Linked DNA regions of Homo sapiens: region 2 is linked to region 1. The links are contacts of gene promoters, found by promoter capture Hi-C in blood cells and fetal thymus (Javierre and others, 2016). All regions are on one chromosome and are shown on one strand. Each heading gives the region's core, a stretch centred on a gene start or on the middle of the fragment in contact. The rest is flanking DNA. Distances are from core to core; before and after follow the strand shown. Region 1 holds the start of USP38 (ubiquitin specific peptidase 38). Region 2 holds the start of MAML3 (mastermind like transcriptional coactivator 3).

The links. Contacts are between HindIII fragments. The CHiCAGO score rates a contact against its expected background, and 5 or more counts as called.
Region 2: the fragment with the promoter of MAML3 here is called in contact with the fragment with the promoter of USP38 in region 1 in 1 of 17 cell types (non-activated CD4 T cells); the score reaches 7.1 in non-activated CD4 T cells.

What each region holds. Positions count from the first base shown.
Region 1 is chr4:143,182,492-143,188,965 of GRCh38, forward strand. USP38 (ubiquitin specific peptidase 38) reads left to right here and starts at 2,426. Exons shown (of 10, transcript NM_032557.6): 1 at 2,426-3,641; 2 at 5,335-5,470. The coding sequence starts at 2,960. USP38-DT (USP38 divergent transcript) reads right to left here and starts at 2,370. Exons shown (of 4, transcript NR_185979.1): 1 at 2,017-2,370. RefSeq lists enhancers at 1,476-2,361, 2,362-3,246 and silencers at 2,298-2,347, 2,568-2,817. The HindIII fragment of the contact is 4,447 bases long and covers 1-3,958 here.
Region 2 is chr4:140,149,255-140,155,670 of GRCh38, forward strand. It overlaps MAML3 (mastermind like transcriptional coactivator 3), which reads right to left and starts at 4,930. Exons shown (of 5, transcript NM_018717.5): 1 at 3,606-4,930. The coding sequence starts at 4,073. RefSeq lists enhancers at 804-1,648, 1,649-2,491. The HindIII fragment of the contact is 806 bases long and covers 4,581-5,386 here.

The sequences.
Region 1 (6,474 bases), core at 1,176-3,675:
TTCTATTAGGTGATATAAATTTCCTAAGAGAAAACTAACCTCACAATAATGTTATTGCAGTTGGCCAACTCTAACCACTGCTTTTGGAACTGCCTTTTCTCTTTGCTTATCACAAACATAAACACATACACACACTTTTCATCTAATAGTATGATGGAAATAATAGAGACTCTAGAGTCAGACTTGATTATTTTTTTTAACCTCCTTTGGCTTCAATACCTTATCTATAAAATGTAGCTATTAACATCTATTTCCAAAACCCCGTTTTGAGAACTAAGGATAAAGTGTAATATATTGAGTTCCAGGCACACAGAGGTTGCTAAATAAACAATCACTCCTTATCCTGTGCTTTTTCTCTTTCATCCCCATCACTCAGCTTCCATTCTCAGATCTAACATATTTGTAAAACCATGTAGTTGGCAATTGAGGCCTTAGACTAAATCTTTATATGAAATTTTAAAGCCCATTACAATAGCACCCACTAATCCAATGATTAGTGGCATGATTCACTGCAAAAAAATCTTCCACAGACTTCTGAAAATATTTTAAAATGTTAAAAAGGAACATGGTATTATTATAGAACTTTTAGTTATGCTATAAAATAAATTTAAAGTTGGCCACTTTCAATTGAAATCTTATAAAAGAGCATATTACATACATTTTTTAACCAGTGGCAAAAGAAGGAAATAAGCGTTGAATATCTTGGTATAAAAACCTAGTATTTCATTTCATGCATCTATCATTCAAGAGGTATTTTAAAAATACAGAGTCATGGTGCTTTTGGAAGTCTAATATTATGACATGTAATTTATATGGACTAATAGCACTATGTTCTCTCAGACATCTTATTTTGTAATATTCAATTTTTCAAGACCTAATATTAACAGAAAGAAGAAAATGTTATAGACAATTCAAAGTAATCTGTCAAGTTTTAAATTTACCAATATTTTTTTCTTGTCTACTTTGGAATAATCACTTCGCTGGTACTATTCAGCAATCTTCATTCGTCCTGTTAGTTTCTTAGCACAAAGATTAATTCCAAATTTCCTCCACTCCACCTCAAATCCACGATCCTTCTTAATACTTAATTCCTTCTTAATATTTTATTTTCTATATTACCTTTGTCTTCCACTGTGGCATTATTCCCAGTAAAGACAAACATCTGTGTACCTTCACCTCCTATTGGAAAAATCATTCCTGTCTCTAGCATGACTGATAGATTAATTACCTCAATTCTCTTTTATCTTCCGTATCTTCCTACGAGTCAACTTGGTCTTAAGTTCCCTTTTACTCAAGCTCCTGTCTCCTCTAAACTGCTCTTCTTAAGACTACCATAATCGACGTGTGAATATATTAGTGTAATCGTGTTTGTAACTTGGTAAAAAAACAAAACACTATTTAGCAAACTGAAGTAACAGAATTTTGTTCATTTTTCTACGGGACATTTTAAATGACCTATTTCTTTAAAGTTTTGTCTGTATTACAGGGCCTTAATGTCTAGTTTCACAACTATATTAACCAAGCCTGAAGCAGGCTACAGTTAGGCAATATTTTCCAATATAAAGACCTCTGATTAAATTCTTACTGTGAATCTTCGGAATTTGGCATGAAACAGAACAAGCATGATTGCACCTGTTCTTCCCTATTGTAAACCATCTTCGGTGTCAACATATACAATAAGTTTTGTGGTATTTCCACCTGGTTTTCTATTTTCAAAGTACCCTTGTATGACACAGGTATAAAAATATTTTGATTCTAATCTGCCATTTTCCTTACTCTCACACTTTTTTGGACGGCTTATAATTTTCGATATGGTACAAAGCTCACTAACTGGTTCTTTGCTAGAGGCCTGCTACTGATACTGATGGTCGCTAAATGCTAGGTACGCCGCCAGTATTGCTCTTACTTCAATACCGACATCGCAGGATAAAGGCAGTCACATTTAGGCGCGCAAGCGCAATTCTTGATTAATGAGCCAAGGCAGACTTCTCAATCCGAGTTTTGAGTTTTCCTTACTTTTCCCCCAAATGCTCTTTTCCTCGGATTTCACATCGATAGCACTTATTCGAGTTTTCACGAGTAACCTGACGCAGGCGGAACCGACGAAGACTAGCCGGCAAGAATCCTACAGTCGCAGCCATCTGCGCAGCGTCCGCCGGGGACGCTCCGCGCGGAAGACCGCCTGTGACTCGACACACTCTCCAGTGACGCGGCCGTCGCCGCACCTGCGCGGCGGGGCGGGAAGGAGACTCCCAGCGCCGGGGGGAAGGGAGTCTACGACTCGGGAGGGAGGTGGGGGAGCAGGGAGGGAGAGAGGGAACAAGGGAGAAGGAGAGAGGCGGACAGGCGGAGGGGCGGAGGGGCAGAGGGGCGGAGGGGCGGTCCTTCCGGAGGTTCTTAGGTCCTTCACTTCCTGTTTGCCGGCACTTCAAAATCCGGGTCAAAGGGTGTCGCTTCGGTCTCTTCTCCCCGGCTGATCCCAGCACTCTCCGTGACAGCGCCTCCTGACTCAGCCCAGGACCGGCTTCTTCTCACGACCTGCTGGAGACTGGACGCCCACACCTGACCCGGAACTCGGAGGCGTGCTTCCTCCACCCGCCGGCTAGCAGCCCCGGGCCCTGAGCTCCCGCCGACGCCGCTGGGGGGCCCGACAGGCCCCTCGGCGCTGATGCTGAGTGGGATCGAGGGCCCGGGGCGGCGGCGGAGTACGGGCCTCTGGCGCCTTAGGCCAGCCGCAGGTGTCGGTTCTTAGGCTCTCCAGGCTCGCTAGCTCCCGCCCCGGCTTGGATGGGTCTCCCTGCGCCATAAATGTGGCTGCTGAGGCGGCGGTGGCCGTGGCCCGTCGCGCTGCTGCTGCGGCGCTCCAAGTTCATCTCCGCCCCGGGGCTCTCCTGCCCCACCTCGGGGCTGCCGCCACCCGCTCCTTATCCCCTGGCCCTGGCCTTGCAGCGTGGCGACAATGGACAAGATCCTGGAGGGCCTTGTGAGTTCCTCGCATCCCCTGCCCCTCAAGCGGGTGATTGTGCGGAAGGTGGTGGAATCGGCGGAGCACTGGCTAGACGAGGCGCAGTGCGAGGCCATGTTTGACCTGACGACCCGGCTCATCCTGGAGGGCCAGGACCCTTTCCAGCGGCAGGTGGGGCACCAGGTGCTGGAGGCCTACGCACGATACCACCGGCCAGAGTTCGAGTCCTTCTTCAACAAGACCTTCGTGTTGGGCCTCCTTCATCAGGGCTACCACTCTCTGGACAGGAAGGATGTAGCCATCCTGGACTACATTCACAACGGCCTGAAGCTGATTATGAGCTGTCCGTCGGTGCTGGATCTCTTTAGCCTCCTGCAGGTAGAGGTGTTACGGATGGTGTGTGAGAGGCCGGAGCCGCAGCTCTGTGCCCGACTGAGCGACCTTCTGACCGACTTTGTGCAATGCATCCCCAAGGGGAAATTGTCCATCACGTTCTGTCAACAGCTGGTTCGAACGATAGGCCATTTCCAGTGCGTGTCCACCCAGGAAAGAGAGCTGCGGGAATATGTCTCCCAGGTGACAAAAGTGAGTAACTTGCTGCAGAACATCTGGAAGGCCGAGCCTGCCACACTACTGCCTTCCCTGCAAGAAGTTTTTGCAAGCATCTCTTCCACAGGTAAGGGTCATTATCTTTCAGAATATCTCATAAAAAATCAGTATATGTCTCTCTTGCACACACACATTCACACCATGTTTTCCTCCTGCCCTAAAAACATTCTTAAGCGAGAGCAAATCCTAATACCTCATCCCAAATTTATTCACATTCACTACCTTATTCAGGACGTCACATCGTACTTTAAAAACAGGCAGCGTTCCCATTTTAAAGGTTGAGAACGTCCAGGTCTAAGACCTTTGGCACTAAACAAGTTGCTTAATTACCCAGCCTCTGCTCAAGTTATTTGGAATGCTTTGAGGATGACAGCTACTGCAGAAAGCTTCCATTCATTAGTGACTAATGGTAGCATGATGTTTACCATAGTATTTATTGTACGTGTCTCTAATTTTGTAATGAGTTTTTCCCCCATTTTTGTATTTCCTCATTTTTGAATTAATGGATTGTGCAGTTTGTTTTATTACTGGATTATCCCAGATAACTATGAAGTTTTTAAATAGTGACATTTTTTGTCTACAGTATCTAGTAGACAAAGGAGGAATACAGATAGAATGAGGGAAGGAAGAGTACGAGGATTTAAATATTTGTTTTTGTGCCCATGAACTGCATTCTCAGAAAGCAGAGAAGGGTCACATGATACTTGCCTAGAAAATGCTTTCTCGCCGAGGAATTTTACCAGTACCTCTACCTTCGTTGTTCTGTCTTGGACCTTTCAGGTCTGAATAGATTCAAAATCATGTTCATTTCCGCTCTACTTGGTACAAGCATTCTCCTTCATTTATAACACCAGTGGGGACTGTGTGGCTGTTCAAATTGAACTTGTGAGGGATGTGTCCTCTTCTTATCTTAAGAACCAGAAGTAAAGGTGGAGTTTTAACAAACGTTCTGTGTTCTGATGAATTTAATATATTTACGAAAGAATTACAAACGATGTATTTGCAGTATCTGAGTTGGTTTGTTTTTTTTTCTTATTGTAATTTTACTTCTATTGCCTGTGTTGTCATAACTGTTAGGTTCCTCCCAAATTTTTTGAACTGTAGCAGTAAAGGTACTTGTCTTGGATTTGCTTAATTTGTATACAGTTTAAGCAAAATCTCCACAAAAGTCACCTTAATTTCTACTTTAAGAGATTTTTTAAAAATCTTCCTTAGAGCAATGTAATGATGAATAGTTTTAAGTTATTTTGGAGGGTCTGAAGTGGGAGTTGAAATGATACTTAAGTGCCCCCAAAAGTCACCTTCATTTCTACTTTAAGAGATTTTTTCAAAATCTTCCTTAGAGGGATGTAATGATCAATAAGTTTAAAGTTATTTTGGAGGGTCTGAAGTGGAAGTTGAAATGATACTTTATGTTTCTTTATATTTCCTTTCTGATTAGTGATTTACAAGTTAATATTTTAGCTCAACAATAACTCGATAAATTATGAAAAATTAAAGTAACTTATGGACTAACCATATCAATATATTTCAGTATTCTGTCTATAGTATGAGTGATCATTGCTGTTCACTCCTAATCTTTCATTCCTGTAATTTAACATTCCTTGTAAATTAAGAGTCTACCCATGAGGGTGTAGCATAATAATCCTTCCTAGTTAACACCTTTGCTGCAATGACTTTTTTTTTTTGTAAAGTGTTGTTCTTTTTAAATACTTGAACCTACTTGCCATGTTCCCTTTTCTTTTTAATTGAAAAAACAGATGCATCATTTGAACCTTCTGTAGCATTGGCAAGCCTTGTGCAGCATATTCCTCTTCAGATGATTACAGTTCTCATCAGGAGCCTTACTACGGATCCAAATGTAAAAGATGCAAGTATGACCCAAGCCCTTTGCAGGTACTTCTTCATGACACTATTAATGGTAATTGTAGATTTGGGGAAGAGGAAGTATTTTGTATTTTGTGAGTAATGAAAAACTTACGAATGTTTAAAACTAAAATCATGGAATGACATATGTAAAGATTCTCCAAATAGATTGGAATTGTTTATAGCGTTGACAGGCATCCCAATAATTCACAAATCTATTTTCAATTCAACTTTTTTTAATTACCAAAATATACACACATATACACATATTATACACTCAGATGTTGATTGGATTATCAGTATACAGTATTTCACTGCCCATTATTGTTTCCTGCAACCTATTTCTTTCTTCTGCGTTTTTTTTTCTTTCTTCCTTAGTAAGTATATACTTTACTTTCTCTTTCAACCAGGCTCAATGTGTAATACACTCTTTGCCTTTGCCTGTTTGAATTTTTTTTCTTTCTCAGTTTTAAATAGATGATTTGGCAAGATACAGAATTCTAATTTGATAGCCATTTTCTCTTAGCATTTTAAAAATAATACTGTATTACCTTTGGGCATCTGTTGTTGCTCGTGGGAAGTCAGCTGTCAATCTGACTGTCATTCCTTTGTGAGTAGTCAGCTTGTCTGGAAACTTTTATGTTCTCTTTATCCTTGATGTTCTGTAATTTTATTCTTGCATTTCTAGGTATAATCTTAATATTATTTGCCCTTCTTAGCACTTTGGCACTTTTATTCAGTCATTCATTCATTTATTCAAACCACACTTACTGAGTACTTACCATGAGTGCCAGGCAGTGTTCAAAATGTCCTCAAACAAACTGATAAAAATATCTGCCTTTATAGGCTTGCATTCTAGTTGGGGAGGCAGACAGTAATTTAATAACACACTTCACTGATTCCAACATGTCTTCTAATTTCAAAGATGTTTAAATGTAGAAATGCCTAGTCATTCATGTCCTAGTTAAATTGGCACGGCTTTTCTTGCCTTAGTGGTATATAAGCTAATTATGCATCTTAAAATTGGTTTTGTT
Region 2 (6,416 bases), core at 3,680-6,179, 3.0 Mb before region 1:
GATGGGATCATTTGACTACATGTTCAGAACGGACCTAATACCTGAGGTAGTGCAGCTTCAAACCCAGGTCTGTGCCACCTGCTCTATCAACAGGGCTGGTGAGGACTCACACAGAACCCAGCCCCCTCTGTGGCAGCCTGGAGCCAAGGAAAATTTTTTACCCCTCACCCACTCTGCTTTTTGTTTGCTATTTTTTTGTTGTTGTTTTTCATGCCCATTCTTGTAAATGTGTAAGATAGGAAAACAAATCAAAAGAGGCAAAGCCCTCATTAGACTGCCTTCTTAATCCAAGCGAGGCAGAAAGATAATTAATCGATATTTAGTACTTCGGACATATTGGTCCTTAGAAAGTAAACAATACCAATGAAACAGTAAAGAATCCTATTCATCTTTATTTTTATATCACCGTTATTATTATTTGGTTGTGGGTGATCATTGTTTTTCTTTAGGGCTTTCCAAATAGAGCGCCCAATCTGAGAACTACATTTAATTGTTCTGTGCCTCACTGGAGTACAACTATAATCCTGCAGTCAATTCAAGAAAATGAAGAGCAACGTTTTCTTTACAACCTCTATTTTTGAGATTTTACCTCAATACAGACTGTTAAAATACTCTCAGAAGCCAAGGTTAACTTTTAAACTAATTATTTTAAAAGGAAATATAACTTGTAGAGCATGTTTCTTTCTTTTTTTTTTTTTTTTTTGGTACACAGAATTTACTTGCAACTCTGCTTAAGAGTTAAGGCTTACATTACATTCATCACACTCATCACACATACCAGTGAGAGATGCATGTGAAACAGCTGAAGCTAAAATACACTCCTATTCTGTACACAGCCCTGGCATTTATTAGTGCGTAAGTCTAATCAACAGGCTAAATCATTGTCATAAAATGACAGAAAATTTTATTTTCACGCAGTCATCTTTCAAGTCTATTTGTTGCTAATTTGCTAAACTGGGATTCACTATGAAATCTACAGCTGATGTCTCTGTCTATTGAAGCAAGCATTATCTTTCTATTTTCAAAAGTAAGCTGTGGCTTGGGCTTGCTGTCTTCTTCCCAGTAAGGTCAGGAGGCTGGGCTTGCTTCCACCTGCGAGTGTATCACAAACCAGGCGCGCGCACCCGAGCCCTCCCTCCACCAGGGCGGAAACCAGAGAACACAACCCAAACACCGAAAGTTTCTGGTCGCAAACTCTACTCATCTTGCCGTGTCCAGAGACCCGGCACTGGGAACGGCACTGGCTTTTGTTCCAGGGTCCCCCAGCTGGCGAGGTAAACGCCACAGCAGTCCTTGATCCCCAAAGGTTGTGAGAGATTCTGTGGCACGGGAATTTTGGAGCCTCCCGAAAGGAGCCCATTTCTCCGCAATCCATGCGCGTGGGGTGTACAAATACACGAAAAGAGGACGCGGGGTGGGCAGGCATGAAACCTTCAGTGCCTCTTAAATTCTCAGTCTCAGGTTCACAAAGTGAATCTCCTCCTCCGTGGAAGGGCGCTAGGGGGGCGGGGGCTGGGAGAGAAATAGGTTGGAGAAAGGGACCGGAGCTACAGTCGAGATGCGGGACCGGCCCCGCCTCCGGCTACAATCAGAAAAACTACAGTGTGTCAGTGGTTTTCGGTTTCCTGTTTGTAAAGCGAGAACCTCCCCCGACTCGAACTGTCGTTCTTCCTCAAAACCAACCGAGACGGCCCCTTCTTCGCGCTCGGGGCAGGCTCAGCCGCAGGGGGAGCGGAGAGGAGGGACGCGGGGGCATGGGGGGCGCGGCGGGGCGGGGACAGCCGCGATGAAGCGGGCAGGGCCACGGGGCGCAGCACCCCTCCCAGCCCAGCGGCCCCGGGGTCTGAGCTGGGCCGCGAGGCGGACAAAGCGCCTCCCGCTCCCTCCCCCACGGCCACGTTCCAAAAGGGAGGAAGAAGGCGGGCAAGAGTGGCTGGAGGAGGAGGAAGGGAGGAGGAAGGGGAGGGGGAGGAGGAAGAGGAGGAGGGAAGGTGCTGCCGGCGGGACTGGGCAGGATCGCGCCGACCTGGGAGGGGAGGGAGGAGGGGTTGAGCGCCCCCGGAGAACTGGGAGGAGGGAAGGATTCTTGAAGCCCAAGATAAACAAATTGTTCCTCTTCACGTGCGGGGTGGGGGGACGTGGGGAGCGAGCACTGCGGCGTCGCCTCCCCTCCCCCAAGCCGACTCTTTGTCACCGAGCGCCGGCCCGAGCCCCCGGCGAAAGCCCACGGCAGCACTGGCACCACCCCGGCGCCGGGGACTCACAGACCGGGAACGTGTGCGATTTCTAAACCGCACGACGGGAGGGCCGCCCCTGCCGGGCTCTGCGCCGCCGATCGCTGGGCGGTCTGCACGGGAAACAGGCGAAGGCGCGCGGCCCCGGCACGCTCCAGGATTCCCGTCGCCTGGCCCACCCAGCACCCGGGCGGCGCGGTGCGGGGGGGGGGGGCACACACCTTTCCCAAGCTTCCGGCCTCCCCTCACCCAGAAAGGAAAGCAAAAGAACCGGAGAGGGGAGATAAGAGAAAGGATTCTAGCCTCCGGCTTGGGGGGTGGGAACTGCCCCTTCCTCCTGGAGAAGTTAAGCCATTGGCTGCTCATCCTACCTCGAACCCGCCCACCCAGCCATTTAAGCCTCTTTTACCTCCCTGCTACCTTCCATTGCTCTGGGCTTATTAAGCAGGCCCCCAAAGTTGGCGGGCAGCGGGGCAGGGGGCGCCAAGCGGAGAAAGACTCCGTGCACGCAAGTTTAAAAGGAAAAAAGGAAAGAATCCCAAGCGAAGTTGTGTGGTGGGGCCTCTTGGCGCAAACCCTGGGTATTGCTTTCCCCTCCCGCCCCCTCCAGGCCGCTCCCCTCTTAACCCTCCCAGCCGCTCCACCTGCCGGGCTAGCCCCGAGTCGCGAGCAAAGAGCGGAGCGCACCCGCGCCCCGCATCCGCGCGCGCTCCCGCGAGCACCCCCGCGCGCAGCCACCCTCGCTCGTTTCTCACCCACTTCAAAGTTCATTCACAAAACTCTCAGACTTTCTCAGCCCAAAGGGGGTGAGCTGGGGAGAGGAGGCGAGAGGCTCTCCTTCCCCGCTTCCCCCCTAGGGGTTGAGGGCCTGGTGCCCGCCCAGAACCTGCGACAGCATCAATATTTCCACGCACCCGGCGGATGTGCTGAGAGGGGTGGGCGTAGGGGGACGGGTCTGGGGAGGCGAGGCGGCGCGGCTAGAGGTGGGGTGGGGAGCGGCGAAGAGGAGGAGCAAGGTTTCAACTCAGGGGTTCACTCTTTCAAATCGGTATCTTAAGAAAGGGAAGGGGGGAAACTTTTCCAGCACCTCACTCCGACGCTCCTCTAGGCTCCCTCCGCCCCTCGCAGTCGTGACTGGCTTCTCCCCTCTCGCCCCCTCCTCCCCAAATCTGACAACCCTGACAGATTAACAGGTAGCGACGACGGCAGCTTTTTCCCTAAGAAAAGTTGACGTTAACCCTTAGGCTTCAGCCCACCTCACCCACCGTGCAAATCAGACCCTTGTACCCCCATGTAAGAAGCTCCACGCGCCCCCCACCACCACCACCACCCCCAACGCGCGCCGCAAGCCCGCTGCCCGTGCGCCCTCACCATGATCAGCGTGTGGTTCCTCTGCTCCGCCGAGGCAGCCTCCGCATCTTGCTGGGGTTTGCTCGGGTGCTGCTGTTTGCCGGTGCCGGCGCCCGATTTCTTGGCCCTCTGCTCCAGGGTCCGCTGGTAGAGGCTCACGGTGTCCCGGCGCTCCAGCTCCAGCTGCTCCACCTGAGCCTGCTGGTACCTGTTCTCGCAGTTGACGTGGTGCCGACGGCAGCCCTCGATGCGCTGGCGGAGCCGCTCCACCACGGTGCTGTGCTTGGGAACGGCCGCCGAACCGCCGCCGGGGCCCCCGGAGCCGCCGCATCCACCGGCTGCCGGGTGATTGCTACTCGGAGCAGCGGGAGTACTATTGGGAGTATTATTCACACCGATCCCGGCCCCGCCGAGGCTGCTGTTCAGGCTACTGTTGATGCAAATACTACTGCCATTCGCGGCAGCAGCGGGGGCTGCGAAATCCCCCATCCTGCTCCCCGGGCACACTATTTTGGAAGAACTTTTTTTATCCACCCCCCTATCAGCCTCCTCCTTGGGTCCAAGGATTAAAATAGTTTAAGTGGAACGCGGGGGAGACGCAAGCACATGGATGGAAACGGCGATCCCGACGGGGCGAAAAAAACGGGGGGGGAGATTTTGGGGTGGTTTTTGTTTCCTTTTTTTAAACTGTAAAAGCTCAAGGGGAAGAAAAGGGGGGAACGTTATCGGAATACCATCAGACACCTATCAACAAAAAGAATCACAACAAACTGAGCCAGCAGCAAATCGGGTTGCAACTCAAGGGGAGATCCGCTCCTTGCTTGCCTTCTTTTTATAATCCATTATTTTCTAATAAATTCCAGGAGATTTCCGGTGGTTGGCAAGCATTTTCTCCCTACATACCGAAAAACACACCCCATGTACACACACAAGCATATGCCTCCAGTGCGGACACGCGCGACACACACTCACTCCACACCGCATCGGAAAACGGCAAGCTTGCTTATTGCATTTTCCTTCCACAAAAAAGTTTTGGTGTTTATGCCGCCCCGTGTTCTCAAAGTACTTTGGCTGCTCAGTTGCATTTCACAGGAACCTAGATATCGAATCCTCGGGCTGGGGGAAGTAAACACATGGACAGTCCGAGGCGACTGCAAAAGTAGATCGGTGAAGTCCTTTGCAAAACGCCGCGCAGAGAGCAGCACCTAACGCTCGGCTGGGCTGCCGCTGCCGCCGCTGCTCCTGCCACCATCACAATGATCAACTGCTCGCCGCCGCCGCCGCCGCCGCCTCCTCCTCCTCCTCTCGCTCCTCCACCTCCTCCTCCTCCTCCATGCCAGCGGAGTGATATCAGGACGCGCGAGCTCAGTAAACACGGCAGCGGCGGCGGCTGGAGGCCGTGAGACAGGCCCGCGGACACGGCGCAAAACCCGGCCCGGACTCTCACCCGGCAGGAGCGGGCGCGGCACGCACCAGCACCCGGCTCCCGTCTCCGTCGCCTCGGCGCCCGGCGCCCCTCCTACGCCCCCAACCACACTACCGCCCCGCCGAGAAGCCCAGAGCCGTCGGCGACGGAGAGAAGAAAGATTCTGGGGGGATCTCAGAAATAAATCAACTTTTGACCTGTGTGTGTGCGTGAGAGCGTGTGTGAGTGTGTGTGTCTGTGTATGCGCGCGCGCGTGCGCGGGGACGCGCCTGGTAGGGTTTCCTTATTCCAAGGAAAGTATCAAGCGATCCCAAGTTGTTGTTATACATTTATGCATTATATTGCAGAACTGTGCATGACCAGGCAGAAACATTGAAGCTTTACAGCAGTTGTCTGTCATCCCTATCCATGTGGAAAGAAAAAGGCAAATGAGTGACTTGTTTTTAAAACCCAGGTAATAAGTCTGCGCTAGTAACAGCGCTACTTACGGACACTTGTTCCAAGTCTAGGCCAGACTGAACACACAAATACCAAATTCTAAATAAATAGAAATAGGCATCAAAAATGTGTAATATTTAACTCACTGTACATAATGATTGTTGTTACTAAGTCAATTATTGTTTTACTTACCCTTGGAAAAAAATAAAGCAAGCAGGGACTTGGAGGTGAGACTAACAGTACATTTAAACAGACTGTTTTGAACACTAGGTGCTAATGACAGCAGTAATTAAGGTCCTTCGTAAATCAAGTGGAAAGATTGCAGATTTCATAGACTAGAACTATAGAAAAAACACAGCATTTCACAGTTTGTCATGACCAAAACAAAAACAAGCAAAAATAACAGGCCTACTTTATTGCTGGATATATTTCTTTCCATTTCAATGAATTCACAATAAGTACAATTAAAATGGACTAGCAACTGCAGAAATCAATCTAAACTTTCCATTTTATTAAAGCACATTATCTTTCCCGATATTATCTAAAAACAAAAATAACAACTAAGGATCAAATATTCTTGAATATGGACTTAAACCATTGCATATACATATTTTTAAAAATTAAGATGGAGAAATTATTATTTCTCTAATAATCAGTAAACTATAAATCTTGATTGTGAGATGTTAATTATAAGTCATTTTGTATTATTTCAATAAATCTTAAGAATTAGTTTTTAGGGTAAAAATACACCCCAGTTTTCTAAAATAGCCAGGAATAAAAGAACTTTGGATCTTATGCATTAGTCATGAGATCTGATTTAAACCATCTTCATTTCTTGGCATTGCAGATTAGCACAGGATGCTATTTCTAACCTCATAATGTCAGCGATAAGAAGCTATATTTTTCTTCAATTAATCAGTTCTATATAGTGAACGATATTTTTAATATTCACTGGATATATGGCAAAA